4 separate regions of the Homo sapiens genome follow, and all the other regions are linked to region 1. The links are contacts of gene promoters, found by promoter capture Hi-C in blood cells and fetal thymus (Javierre and others, 2016). All regions are on one chromosome and are shown on one strand. Each heading gives the region's core, a stretch centred on a gene start or on the middle of the fragment in contact. The rest is flanking DNA. Distances are from core to core; before and after follow the strand shown.

Region 1 (3,500 bases), core at 266-2,765:
CTCTCACGCGGACCCCCTTAGAGTTGTGAGCCCTTAAAAGGGACAGGAATTGCTCACTCGAGGAGCTCGGCTCTTGAGACAGGAGTCTTGCCTATGCCCCTGGCCGAATAAACCCCTTCCTTCTTTACCTCGGTGTCTGAGGAGTTTTTTCTGTGGCTGGTCCTGCTACAAAGGAAGAGTAAGCTGTGGGTACTCAGAAGAACAAGTTCCCTGTGACTGGACCTTCAGAGACAAGAGACCAAAGTGGAGCTGCAGAGATGAGCAGCAGTCTGCCCGTCCTGCGGCCTCTCTCCTCGGACTAACCAGAGGGCTGCTAATTTATCAGGAAAGCTATGGACAGCATCCAAAAAGTTACCAGAAGGCAAGTAAAAGGATAACCTTCAAAAGGGCCTTACTTCTGAAGACTGAGTACCTAAGACTCCTTCGCCTCATACCCAGATCCAGATAAGGGCTCTCATCCCTGCTGAACCTCATCATGAGGTTGCTTTATGAAAAGTGAAAACAAAGCTTCATTGCACAGGCTTCTTCGGGAGAAAGGAGGAAGGAATTTGCTGCCTCTGAATAAAAGAAAATTCTGATCCACGTTGGCAAAATGGAAAAATCAAAATGACAGAATAGGAATGTGGGGTATGATAAGGTTTCTCTTCAAATAGCCTGATCAATCCTTTATTCTTTAATTCACAGTGCCCCTCCCCACTTCACTTTTCTTCTCTTCTCTTTCCTTTCTGCTTTTGCTACATGCCTAGACATGTCACAGTACCAGGCGTTATCAGTACCAACTCACATTCCTTTCCTTATTTTGGAAGAAGATTAGTTATCTAGCTCATCACACACACCCCTTCCCCATCTCCCCTCTCTCCCTCACGTGCCCACCTTATCTAAAGAAAGTTAAAATGTTTAGCCAACTGAGTCTAGTTTAGATTGTGTGGCCGACTCCAGCCAATGGGGAAAGGGCAAAGGGGTAGGATTTGCGTCAGGAATAAAAACTTTCTTCCTCCTTTGTTCTAGTGTGCTCTCATGGCGACTGGCAAAGAAGAAGCACCCCTCTGCACAGAAATAAAATTGCTTTGCTGAGAAATCCTTTGTTTGAGTGCTCGTCTCCCTTAAGATTCTGAGCTTTATTTCCAACAAGGAAGGTGATGGAGGTACCTAGATTGAAGAAATGAATGGTCCCTCTAGGAAACAAGCAAGGCTTTTTGCTTTTGCAAACCTCTCTTCTTTAAAGGTTACCCCTCTCCCAGACTCAGTGCTTTCTTCCTCTGCCATCTCAGCAGACAGTTCACAAGCTGCCTCTTTTTGTTTATGCAGAGCAGCTTCAGAACTACAAATTAAACTCACCCAGACACAATCAATCTATTCTTCTCAAAGCCTCCCATTCTATGCTCCCACAGATTGCTCCACTCACCTTCAGTCCAAAGCAGAGGAGTCTTGAATCAGGGGAGAAGAGTGAAGGCAGGGCAGGAGCCGGTGTAAACCAGATTCACTCACCAAGCCAGAGGGCTGGTCTCCACAAATGAGTTTCCCCACAGGAGCTGAGTGAGAAACGAAAGTTAAATTCTCAGAAGTGAAAGAAAACAAAGGAAGCTGAACAAGAACTTACATAACAATAAACCCTGGGGAAAGTAATGCTACATTATGTTCTAGCATCTGCTGTACTGGCAAGGCACTCAGTCACTACTTCCTTATTCTTACTGTGGTTTACTCAAGCAAGAATATTTGAATAAAAAGAATGTGAATTACAGTTATACAGCTTGCCTGAATACTTAGAATTCCAATGCAGTCCTATAATTATTAGTCGAATTTATCTTATATTTAAGACCTAAGCCAGGAAAATAAAGATCCAGAGACTTGGGACCTAGCTTCTTGAAATGCAGTCTGACGAGGAAGATACTCAGTTATAAAGCTCTACAAATTTGGGCTGACAAGATGAGTATTAGCAGCTGACATTGTGAATGGTAAAAAAATTATTTTTATAAATAAAAGGATCTTTAGTGTGAGCCCATTGAAAAAAATGTTCTCAAAATGTCATTAAATCTTAAGAGTCCATCAATTAATTATCACTTCCTGCTCCTAATCCAGACAGACCAGATGAGGATGGATTCCAGAGAGTAATAGAGGTAAAACTGTGTCAGTGTCATGTTACCCAGCCACTGAGGCAGGTGAGAACATGGAAGTTAACAGATGATGCTGTTTAATTATAATCATTCATTGAGTTACTCTCATGCCTTCATAATTTTTCCACTTTTCCCTGCTTCTCTAAGAAAAGTTTGGTCATTTTTACACAATCAATTAAAAAGCAGCACTGAAACATGTTATACGTCATGCACATACTTCTGTACCCTGTTGTCTATTGTATTCTTGTTTAACTGCATGTGCCAGATAATGCCATCAAAAACTGATGGAGGCCTGTGGTGTCTCATGCCTGTAATCCCAGCACTCTGGGAGGCCCAGGTGGGTGGATCACTTGAGTCCAGGACTTCAACACCAGCCTGGGCAACATGGTGAAATCCCATCTCTAAGAAAAATTAAAAAAAAAAAAATAGCTGGGTGTGGTGATGTGCACCTGTAGTCCCAGCTACTCAGGAAACTGAGATGGGAGGATGGCTTGAGCCCAGGAGGTGGAGGTTGCATTGAGCCAAGATTGCGTCATTGCACCATAGCACTGCAGCCTGGGTGACATAGTAAGACCCTGTCTCTACAAAAAACAAACAAACAAACACCACACAACACATACACACACACACCCAAAAAAAAAGAAAAAAAAAGGCAACTCATGGAGCTTCCATAACATGGATCCCTGACTGACACTATGGAGCATGGCCATCTTCATACTTTAATCAATGATACACATGTAGGATGACTGAGAAATCAATGTTTATTATTTCAATAATAGATATTTTGGTATTATTTGTTGCTCACAGAATAATAAGCTAATCCTGGCTATAAATTCTTTCCTACTCACTTATATCTATGAGGACCTTATTCAATCAGCTGAAAGCCAGAATAGAAGAAAAAACTGACTTCTCCCCGAGAAGAGGGAATATTACCAGCAGGCAAACCTCAGGCGTGAGCTATAACGTTGACTCCTTCTTGGATCCAGAGCCTCTTGGCCTACCTTGCAGACTTTGGATTTGCCAGTCTCCAGAATCACCTGAGACATTTCTCAAGTTTCTTTCCAAATAAATTCATAGTTTAGTGGTTCTATTGCTATGATGAACCTTGACTAAGACAGGCGTGAAATTTTCTTATTTCTTCTTGAAGATAAATAAGCAAGAGATGTAATTTTAGGTATATTCCATGTTTGAATAGAATATCTTGTTGACATTTGTAGGGGAGTGAGCGCTCAGTGAGTGAATGTGTTTTTTCTGGAGTGCACAGAGTGGAGTCCGAGTGTCAACCACAATGGACAAAGTGAATGAACTCATTTATCCAGAGACCTGTTCTCTGTCCATTATTTCTTCCCTTCTCAGCACTTCCATAGATCTCATAGCCATCCTTTT
Region 2 (3,500 bases), core at 673-3,172, 1.6 Mb after region 1:
GACAAGCCTGGGCAACATAGCGAGACTCCTTCTCTAAAAAAATACAAATAAATAATAATGTAAAAAAATAAAAATACAAAAATAGATGCTCAGCTCTCACTCTTATGAATGGATCAATAAAAGTGCACTATGTTATTTTGCTCTTTGGTCAGCTAAAATGTGAGCTAGGAAAATTCACAGAATGATGTTCTCAAGATACCAAAAACAAGAAAGGCCACTACTGTCCACCTTTCCAACTCTTGTCTGTAGTTAAACCAATCTGGACATTGGCTGTAGTTAAACCAAATCAACTACCTGCTTATTCACAGCATTCATCGTGTCCTACATTTTGATACAACTATTTTCATTCATTCTTTAAGAATCTGTTCATGTCAGGTCCTGTGCTAAACGTGAACAGAAAAGTCTCCATCTTGCTTGTATTCCCAGCACTTTGGGAAGCCAAGGAAGGGAGGATGGTTTGAGGCCAGGAATTCAAGGCCAGACTGGGAAACACAGCAAGACTCCTTTACTACCAGAAATTTTTAAAAATTAGCCACTCATGGTGGTGCATGCCTATAGTCCCAGCTACTTGAGAGGCTGAGGCAAGAGCATCGCTTGAGCCCAGGACTTCAAGGTTACAGTAAGCTATGATTACACCACTGCATTCCATCCTGGGTGACAGAGCAAGACTCTGTCTCAAACAAGTCTCCATCTTTGAAATGTTCACAGCCTAGAGGACAAAATAGAAACAACCAGTCGATTAACCAGTATTTACTAAGTGCCTACAATTTTGAAATCATTGTATTGCTTTAACAAAGGCAAGTAGGTTCAACTCAAAACTTGTTCATACGTATCTCATGCGGTTGTTAAAAGTATGTTGCTCTTGTTTTTCCAACCCGATGAAGCCTGTTCCCAAGGCAGGGACTGTCTCCTCCTACAATCTCACAAAGCCAAGCAAAGGGCTGGGCACAAAGCGGGCACTTGGCAAGTCTAATGAAAAAGAACTGTTGAGAAAGAATACGAGTTCCTGACTCTTCCCAGTCCCCATCTTGTCAGAAGATGTCTCAGCCACCCTTCTCTGATTCAGCATCTCTTCCCATGAAGGGAAAGGAACTCGAGGGTGCTGTCTGTCTGGGATCTGTTTTTTCCACGCCACACTCCTATCCTCACCCCACAAAAGAGATCAGTAAACTGACAAGTGCCTACGGAGGGTAGAGAGGCCCCCTCCTTCTTTCCTAGCTGCCCCCCGACCCTGTGCCTAAGACAGCTCACCAACCCCACGGTTTTCAAATCAAACCGTATTGTCACCTATGGGTGACTTTGGGTCAGTCGGCGACACCTCGCTCTGAGCGTCAGTTTCCTCATCTGTAATAAGCTAATCATCTCTCAGAGGCTTGCAGGGAGGAATAAAATAGTGCCTGGCAAGTGCTCGGCGTACGCAGTCACTACTCGATACGGGGTAAGTGTTATCCTTTTGAAAGGCGGCAGGATGACAAAGCCGAGGGGGCGCAGCCTGAAGGCCCGAAGGAGGTTCGGGGCAGGCTGACTGAAGACAGAAGGCCGAGCGGGCTGACAGGGCGGAAGGCCGCGGCGGGAAATGCGGGAAAGGCGGGAAGCAGCGAAGGCGGGCGGGCGGTCTGGGCATCAGCTCCGGCGGCGGCAGCCCGCATCCCCTCACCTTCCTTCTCGCCCACCTCGTCCCCCCCTCACCTCGCTTGATCACATGCATCGCAGCTAGTGGCTGAGGCTCTGAAGGATCCAAGACTGGACTGCGGCTCTAAAGCGCCGGCGGGATCGAGAAGGTGACAGAGTGGGAAGGGTTAGGTTCCAGGCGCTGCTCAGGGGAAAGAACTGGAGTTGGAGCCAGACAGCACTTTCTTCAGAGCAGAGGCGCAACAATCCAAATCCCCTTCCCGCGCCCGCCACCCGTGACGCACAAAGGGGCGCGACGGGGTTCGAATGACGTTACTCGACGCTGCGGCCCACGCCCGGGGTAGGCTTCACAGACTGACAGGCGACGTGTAGCCGCCATGTTGAGTCTGGGCAAGACCCAGAAGACTACGCCTCTCCCATGGGCCCCATTGGATATGGACATGCCCGGCGGAAATGCTGCTCTCCTGCTACCATGTTTTGTGTGGGCAAGCCGAGTTCGGGACCCTCGGGGCCCTGGCGTAGCACCTAGAGCCCGCTGGGTCAGGCGCCGCCCTCTCACCTGCGCGTCTCCGCCGGAGGAAAGGCGGTTAATTTATTTTTGAAATAACAAAACCTAACCGGCGGGAACGTTTTTCTTGCTCTGACATTTATTATAATAATACTAACACTGCCGTCCGCTGTGGGCTCCAGCCCAGGCTCCACAGCCGTGGGCAGCTTGGAGCCCCAGGGCTTTTAGATCGGCCAGAGGACTGACACTCTGGAACTGGAAGAAAACCGCGCAAGGCCGATGGCGTTTGGATTTTATCCTGACGCAAATCAGAGCCCTGAGAGAATTTTAAGCAGGGCAGGGTCAGTACCCATTTGCTTTTAGGGTTCTTCAGTGGATGGTGGCAGAGACAGGGTATTTGCCTTGTGGAGGTAGGATGGACTTGGTGACTTAGAGTGGAGAATAAGAATAGATGAGAACCGTAATATGTAAGGCTGGTGTAGAAGCTTCTGATTTGGGCTACCCAAAGCGATCTTTATGAAATTTCATCTGTGGCATCTTTTCCCTAAAGCCTTTTCGTTGGTTTCTCACTGCCCTCCAGAAGCTGCCCAGGCTCCCTGTGAAGTAATTTCAAAAATCATGGAAAGTCGTAAGTGAGCCTGTAATTGCAGCATTTTGGGAGGCTAAGGCGGGAGCATCATGTGAGGCCAGGTGTTGAGATAAGCCTGGGCAACATAGTGAGACCCCATTTCTACAAAAAATAGAAAAAGTAGGCCAGCGCGGTGCTTCACTCCTGTAATCCCAGCACTATGGGAGGCCAAGGCGGGCAGATCACGAGGTCAGGAGTTCGAGACCAGCCTAACCAACGTGGTGAAACCCCCCCGCTGCTAAAAATACAAAAAGTAGCCAGGCATGGTAGCACGCGCCTGTAATCCCAGCTACTCAGGAGGCTGAGGCAGAAGAATCGCTTGAACGCTGGAGGCAGAGGTTGCAGTGAGCCAAGATCGCGCCATTGCACCCTAGCCTAGGCAAGAGAGTGAGACGCCGTCTCAAAAAAAACAAAAAAAAAGAAAGAAAAATTAAATAGATATGTTTTTTAAAAGTCGTAAGTGAAGTTATAGGATAGATAGGGTCAAGTTTACCCAGACATAGGGTTTCCCAATTTAGCAAATAAAAATGTGTCCCAGATACTGCATGAGAGAAAATTATACTTTAAAAACTGTTTATCTGAAATTCACATTTAACTGGTCATCCTGCATTTATCTGGTAACCCTGCCCACAGAGCTTCTGGGCATGTGCATTCAAGTTTCATTTTCCCTGGGCAAAGGAAAGATTGTCTCTTTATCCCATCATGCCACAGCACAGAGAACACAATGAGAGT
Region 3 (3,500 bases), core at 321-2,820, 1.2 Mb after region 1:
AGCAAAAGAATACACATACTGGCTTAGGTGAAAAAATGATTTTCTAGCAAGCATAGGTGTCTTACTCAGAACCTGCAGCCCTGGAATGTTTCAAACTTCCTAACACTGAGTGTTTCATCAGAAGCTGGACACCACCAGTCAGAATGAATGAAGGATTCCTATGTCAGATATACTGTTGGCCCTCACCCAGGTCCTGAGTAGATAGTTCACCAAATTCCCAATGACTAAGAAAAGAAACTCAGATTTTCAAAGTCTTCTCTTCAGCAAATGAAGTTGGAAGCATCTTTGTGTCTTTCGGTGAAGTCACCTGGAGACCCATGGGTCAAGTCTCTGTCAAGTTACTGATAGGGGTGAGGGCACTGTGAGAAGACAGCACAGTCAGCACATTCAATCCACAGGCTACCAGAGGACACAGACCCATGAGTCCTGAACAGACTGGTGGCTCTGAGTTTCAGGACATCATTTTTTTTTTTTCCAAGAAAAAACTAAACATGAAGATCCTGGCAGCCGTGCACATTCTACCATAGCCTGTCTCCAACTCCAGCAGACAAGCCAACCCATTCTTTCTCCACCTCACCCTCTACATATCCTTTCTTGGGAATACTCCCAAGATGCTCTCACGGATTTGCTTGGTCTTGACACCATAGATTATGGGATTGACCATGGGTGGGAAGAGCAGATAGAAATTGGCAAGGAGGATGTGGACATGAGGGGCAGCATGGCGGGCTACACGGTGCATGACTGAAGAGATGACCACAGTTGTGTAGAAGGCTAAGATGGCACCTATATGAGAGACACATGTCCCAAATGCCTTGTAGCGGGCCTCCTGAGAGGCAAGCAGTAGAACTGCCTGAAGAATAAAGATATAAGACAGGATAACAAGGAGCAGGTCCAACACCACAATAAACATGGCCACAGCGATGCCATAGATATTGTTGAAGCTAGTGTCCCCACACGCCAGCCTCACCACAGCCATGTGTTCACAGTAGCAGTGAGCGATCACTGGGCCTCGGCAGTAGTGGAAACATCTCAGCAGGAAGGGGAGTGGAGTCATTAGTGTCACAGCCCGGGCCACAGCAGCCATGCCAATCTTGGTGATGAGGGACCCAGTCAGGACCTTGGTGTAGTGCAGTGGCTTGCAGATAGCCACATAGCGGTCAAAGGCCATGGCCAGCAGCACTGCTGACTCCATGATGGAGAAGGAGTGAAGGAAGAACATCTGGGCCAGACAGGCAAAGAAGTTTATCTCCCGATCCCTGAACCAGAATATGGCAAGCATTTTGGGCAGTGCTGAGGAGGAAAGGACCAGGTCGATGGCTGCCAACATGGCCAGAAAGAGGTACATGGGTTCATGGAGGGCTGCATCAGCCTGGATGATGAGAAGGAGAGTGCAGTTTCCAAGCAGGGCCAGTGTATATGCTAAGCAGAAAGGGATGGAGATCCAGATGTGCAGGTGTTCCAGGCCTGGAATCCCCACCAACAAGAAGGCAGTTGGATGTGTTAAGGTGATATTGGAGGCTGACATGGCTCCTGGGAATTCTCTTCCTCCTTATCTGCTTCCACAGGGCCCTTCCAGAGAATATTCAATATCAGCAGAATTACAATGCTCACATTCAAACTCTGATCATTCTTGTGAGAAGATTAGTTCTTAGACCCATTTTTAGACATGAAAAGAAATGAGAAAATAATCATATGTATCATGAAATATTATGCATGATCCTTGCCCTTAAGCTGTTTATAAAAACACTGGGTGCTCAGGACATTTAATTCCAATAAAGCTAGTATTACAAAGCAGCCTTATTGAGAAATCAAGTGGAGGAAGAGCCTTTTGTGGCCTGCATGTGGCCAAAAGCAACTTTGTAAATAATACAGATTGCTGCTTAATTCAAATCATACCCACAAACATTTACCGTCACTGTCTTCCTATTGCCTTCCAATTCAAACTACACTCCCAATTATGAAAGAGTTTCTGCCCTGAAATGTCAATCTTGGTCATATGAAAAATAAATGTAGTTAGCACTTTCTAATAATTCACTTCCCTACAAGTTCTTTAGATTTTTTTTCTAGCAGGGTTTCGTAGGTCCTTGTTTGACACTCAGAAATCCCTCCAACTAAAGCCCTACCTCCAGGTAACTTGAGAACATGAGAAGCCCTTTTGTTGTTCTCTTTTGCCTAACTGTAGTTTAACCTTCATCTCTACGTGCTTCTTCCTTCCTGGACTTCATGACATTCAGAAGAAGAGATGCCCCACACTTACCTTTTTGCAAGACTGACCTATTCCCTTCACACTATTTTTCCATCTGGGATCCTTATCATTCTATCTTTTTCCACCTTCTGTTGTCATTTCCCTTGAAAACGTTTAAACATTTCCTTGCAATATTTTTGACCTGTGCCACCTTTTTTTTCAGCTCCTGCCTAAAAACTTTCTTTTGGGGATTTTGAGATCTTTTAAAACACTTAGCACAAATCTTGAAACAGTGCTCAGTAAACGTGGACACTTATGAATTGAGAAAACAAAAGACTAAGTCACTAACAATCAGAACAGTTGGAAAACGTCAAAGATGAAACTTGAGCTTCGAGAACTCTGGTTTGCTGCCTCCCAATCCAATGTCTTAAATCACTACACTCTTCTGCTTCTACCTCATTGCTTCCTAAGAAGTATAAATCCAGCATATTCAAGTTAACAGAAATATAACTCAAACTCATTATCATGATATAGGAAAAAAAATTAGAATCTAAAGACTTGGGTTTAAGTAATGATTGAGCCATCAGCCTACCAATAGAAACTAGTATTAATCACTGAAATTTTTAAAGATTTAGGTTCCTCACCTATAGATGAAGGCATAACCATATCTTCCATGACAATTTTACTGCTTCATGATGAGGAAAGATAAAATCATGAGAAGAGTCCCTGTAAACTGTAAAGCATTGTAAAACTGTTATTTGTCATTACAATATTCCCCCTCCCACACAAATCTGCCCCCTTTTTTAAAATGTTTTTCTTGACATCAGCACAATCCCGCATTCCTTGGCCTTATATCTCCCTCCATCTAACACCCGCAACTGTTTTCCTTCACAACAATGTTTGTTGAAAAAGTTGAGTAATTCATTATCTAATTCCTCATCTCTTAATTTTTAATTCCTTCCAATCTAGCTCCCATCTCCTCTACTCCCCTTATATGATCTTATCATTGCTTGTGTATTCCCCTCTCTCTCTCTTCTTTTCTCTCCTCTTTTTGTTGCCCTTTTATTCTCATACTTCTCTAGGTGCTCTCTTAGGTGGTAAAAATGCCAAGAGAAATCAATATTCAGGGAATGCTCAACTGTCTAGCTTCTACTCTGAGTTCCCAACTAGCATATCCTACTTCCCACTGGATAGTTCCACTTTAAAGTCTCAAACAAAATAGGGCCAAAACAGAAATCTGTCTCCACAAACTCTTTCCTCTCCATGACTTGCCCATCTCAGTATGTATTATTACCATCCATCCTATAGCTAGGTC
Region 4 (3,500 bases), core at 526-3,025, 1.0 Mb before region 1:
CACAGAGAAGGAACTCTAGCCTCAGGCTGGTTTTTATGTTGTGGCAGCTCCATCTGCTGGTCTCTGGGGGACTGTCCTTTGGGCACTGAATTATTCAACATTCTGCAGGACACCACTGCTAAATTGGCTAATTCACATGGGGTCTGTACTTTCTACAGGGACAATGTTCCTGAGTTGCTAAGGCTGTTAAGAAAAATTTTGCTGTCTGCAGAACCCTGAGTTGATTGCCACATCCTCCAGCCTGCAAATTGGTCCAGCAGTCTACGCTACCTTATTGTTGAGTCAACTCATTCTGCTATTGTAGGCCTATGACAATCCACTGGGTTTCAATTCAGTATCCAAACTGCATAAAAACTCAAGGCACCTTTGTAAAATTAAGCCTTCTTCTTTCTGACCATGCTGTGCTACATTTCTGTGAATGAATCCTAAAGTTGATGCATGGCATAATCCATTTGGATGTCAAAAGACTAATATTACCTCAGTCTTATATTTTTGGAAAAAATTCTAACTTCCTCCAGACAAATGAATGCCTCCGACAGACTAAGGAGAAGCCCTAATAATGGCATTTTTATCTACATCCTCATCTTCAATTTTGTTGTCTGATGAGTTCAAAGCTTGTGCTCTCTTCACTTCACCTCCAGGACCTTGGTCTGGAAAGGTCCTTGAGGTCTGGAAGATTAGCAGGAGAGAGACAAAAAAAAAAAATTGCCTGGTCACACTACACAATACCAGTCTTGAATTCTCACAGACAAAAACACCTTTATTTATTTCTAAAATTCCTTCGTCGTAATTAAGAATCAGACATGTTGGAAGCTCGGCCATTCATTCAATACACACTCACAGAGTACCTATTATGTGTGATGTATTCTGACGGGCACAATGTGTAACCCACTGTGTTAGTTTCCTGTTCCTACTATAACAAATTATCACAACCTTGGTGGCTAAAAACAATGAAACAACAGATTTATCTTACAGTTCTGGAGGTCAAAGTCTAAAATTAGGACTTATGGAATTAAAAACAAGGTATTGGCAGAGCTTCGTACCTTCTAAAGACACTCGGGAAAAATTCTTTTTCTTCTTTCTTTCTTTTTTTTTTTTTTTTGCCTTTTCTGCTTCTACATTCCTAGACACATGACCCCCTTCCATCTTCAAAGCCAGCAACAAGAAGTCAAGTTTTTCAGTGCCTCATTCCAATGCTTGACCCTACTGACTCTTTCTTATAAGGACCCTTGTGATTACATTGGGCCCACTGGATAATCCAGGATAATCTCCTCGTCTCAAGATTGTGAATTTAATCACATCTGCAAAGTCCTTTTTGCCATATGGAGTAACAGTCACAGGTTCTGGGGAGTAGGAGGTGGATATCTTCAGGGGACCTTTATTTATCAGTATTAAACTCAAAGAAAGGATAACTCTCCATGAGTCGGACAGCTATAAAAGATGTGGCTAATCTTTTTTAACTTCTTTTTTATTGAAATATAACAGTTATACTAAAAAGGGTACACAGATTTTATGTGTACAGCTCAACGATCTGTGACAAAGCAAATACACTCCAGTAACCAGCATCCAGATCAAGTTACGGAGCATTGCCCACACCCTAGAACTCACCCCTCATGCCCTCCTCTAATCACTGTACCTTCTCTCCACTCTCCAAAGCAGTGTAACACAGAGATTAGCTCTGTTTTCAAACAAGCAGTTGGAATGATACAATGTGTACATTTTGTGCCTGACTTCCTTTACTCAACATTACGTTTTTAAGATTTATCCATGTTACTATGTGGAGCTGTATTAGTTTATTTTCATTGTTGTATAATGCATTATATGACCAAATGACAATTATTTATCCTTTCTGCCAACAAACATGTGTGCTGTTCCCACCTTGGGAATGTTTTAAATAGTTTTGCTATAAGCATTGTTGCATACCTTCTGGTGCACATATATACACATTTCCATTAGGCATGTGTGTATATACTAGGAGTAGGATTTCTGGGTTGTAGCATATACATTTTCAACTTCTGTAAAGAGTACCAACCAGCTTTCAAAGTGTATGTTGCAATTTATGCCTTTATCAGAAATGTATGAGAATTCCAGTTGCTTCTCATACTCACCAAGACTTAATTTTATCAGAAAGTCTTTTTAACTTTAGCCATTCTGGAGTATATAGTACTATTTCAATATGGTTTTAATATGTATTTCCTTAATTAATAATGAAGTTTTACATTTTTGTCCTTTATTGGCTATTTGAATATTCACTTTCATAAAATGCCTACTCAAGTTTTTCACCCATTTTTATCTTGTGTTGATTTTCTAGGAGTCCTTTACATATTCTGTCCACAACCCCTTTGTCAGTTATAAGAGTAGCATACATGACTTGGGCCACAAAATATGCGTATAAATTTGAAATGTAAATTTCAACTGATTTCTTACAGGTTTAGTTACCATTTCAGTTTTATAGTATAGAACTAAGCGAAACAAAGTATTTTACAAATCTGTGATAAATAATTCTTAAATAGAAAGAGTACTTTTTTATTAAAATACATCTTCTAAAGACAAGAACAGGGCAAGTTTTTTTTTAATTAGTTCCCTTATCCTTAAATGAATAAAATACCCAATGTTAAAATGTGACTGGGTTTAGTAGAGATTAAGAGCAAAAAGTAAAGGTACTGGGCTGCTTAGAAGTGCAGGGGCTTAAAACGTGTATTAATTATTGTTACAGAAGGATTTTTACAATAGAATTAACCAAATATTCAAATAAAGCTAATCTAAATTTCTTAAATCGATGATAGGAATGAATAAATTACAAGAAAATTGGTTGAAGAGTAACAAGTAAGTCATGAGCGAGGGTAAAAATAAATACATATTTATAGGACCCCAACCTCTATCAAAAGCTAATGGAAGAACTTTCTGGTATGTGAATTTAGCTCAATAAAGCTTTTTTTTTAAAAAAAAAAAAAGCTAATAAAAATGTTTCTCCCATGAGTTTGAATAAATGTACATGGTTAACTTACTTCCAATATATATTGTTTTTTCTCTTACATGTAACATTAAAGTGGTAGAAGCAGACCAGGTGCAGTGGCTCACACCTGTAATCCCAGCACTTTGGGAGGCTGAGGCAAGCAGATCACCTGAGGTCAGTCAGGAGTTCGAGACCAGCCTGACCAACATGGCAAAACCCCGTCTCTACTAAAAATCCAAAAACTAGCCAGGTGTGGTGACGGGTGCCTGTGATCCCAGCTACTTGGGAGACTGAGGCAAGAGAATTGCTTGAACCCGGGAGGCGGAGGTTGCAGTGAGCGGAGATGGCACCATTGCACTCCAGCCTGGGCAACAGAGCCAGATTCTGTCTCTAAGTAAATAAATAAATAAAAATAAAGTGGTAGAAGCAAACATAAAATTTCTTCTTCTAATTACTGAAATTTTATGAAATATGCACCTGGACCTAAGTGAACAAAAATACTCATTAAGCTTTTTCTCATTTGTGAAATTTATGCAAATGCAAA

The links. Contacts are between HindIII fragments. The CHiCAGO score rates a contact against its expected background, and 5 or more counts as called.
Region 2: a contact is called between the fragment with the promoter of RRM1 here and the fragment with the promoter of TRIM22 in region 1, in 1 of 17 cell types (non-activated CD4 T cells). The highest score is 6.8, in non-activated CD4 T cells.
Region 3: the fragment with the promoter of OR52K2 here is called in contact with the fragment with the promoter of TRIM22 in region 1 in 1 of 17 cell types (neutrophils); the score reaches 6.5 in neutrophils.
Region 4: a contact is called between a fragment that was not itself captured here and the fragment with the promoter of TRIM22 in region 1, in 1 of 17 cell types (activated CD4 T cells). The highest score is 5.2, in activated CD4 T cells.

What each region holds. Positions count from the first base shown.
Region 1 is chr11:5,687,805-5,691,304 of GRCh38, reverse strand. It overlaps TRIM22 (tripartite motif containing 22), which reads right to left and starts at 1,515. Exons shown (of 8, transcript NM_006074.5): 1 at 1,406-1,515. It overlaps LOC124902620 (a long non-coding RNA gene), which reads left to right. Exons shown (of 2, transcript XR_007062561.1): 1 at 1-627; 2 at 1,009-1,078. RefSeq lists enhancers at 696-795, 211-1,410, 1,382-1,721, 843-1,835. The HindIII fragment of the contact is 4,665 bases long and covers 510-3,500 here.
Region 2 is chr11:4,093,221-4,096,720 of GRCh38, reverse strand. It overlaps RRM1 (ribonucleotide reductase catalytic subunit M1), which reads right to left and starts at 1,922. Exons shown (of 19, transcript NM_001033.5): 1 at 1,690-1,922. The coding sequence starts at 1,708. RefSeq lists enhancers at 1,693-2,162, 2,223-2,292. The HindIII fragment of the contact is 7,950 bases long and covers 1-2,627 here.
Region 3 is chr11:4,447,365-4,450,864 of GRCh38, reverse strand. It overlaps OR52K2 (olfactory receptor family 52 subfamily K member 2), which reads right to left and starts at 1,570. Exons shown (of 1, transcript NM_001005172.2): 1 at 504-1,570. The coding sequence starts at 1,525. The coding sequence ends at 581. The HindIII fragment of the contact is 8,565 bases long and covers 1-3,500 here.
Region 4 is chr11:6,700,204-6,703,703 of GRCh38, reverse strand. The region is part of intron 3 of LOC124902625 (a long non-coding RNA gene); the gene reads right to left. Among named protein-coding and RNA genes, the nearest start is that of MRPL17, 19 kb to the right of the region's middle. The HindIII fragment of the contact is 2,317 bases long and covers 617-2,933 here.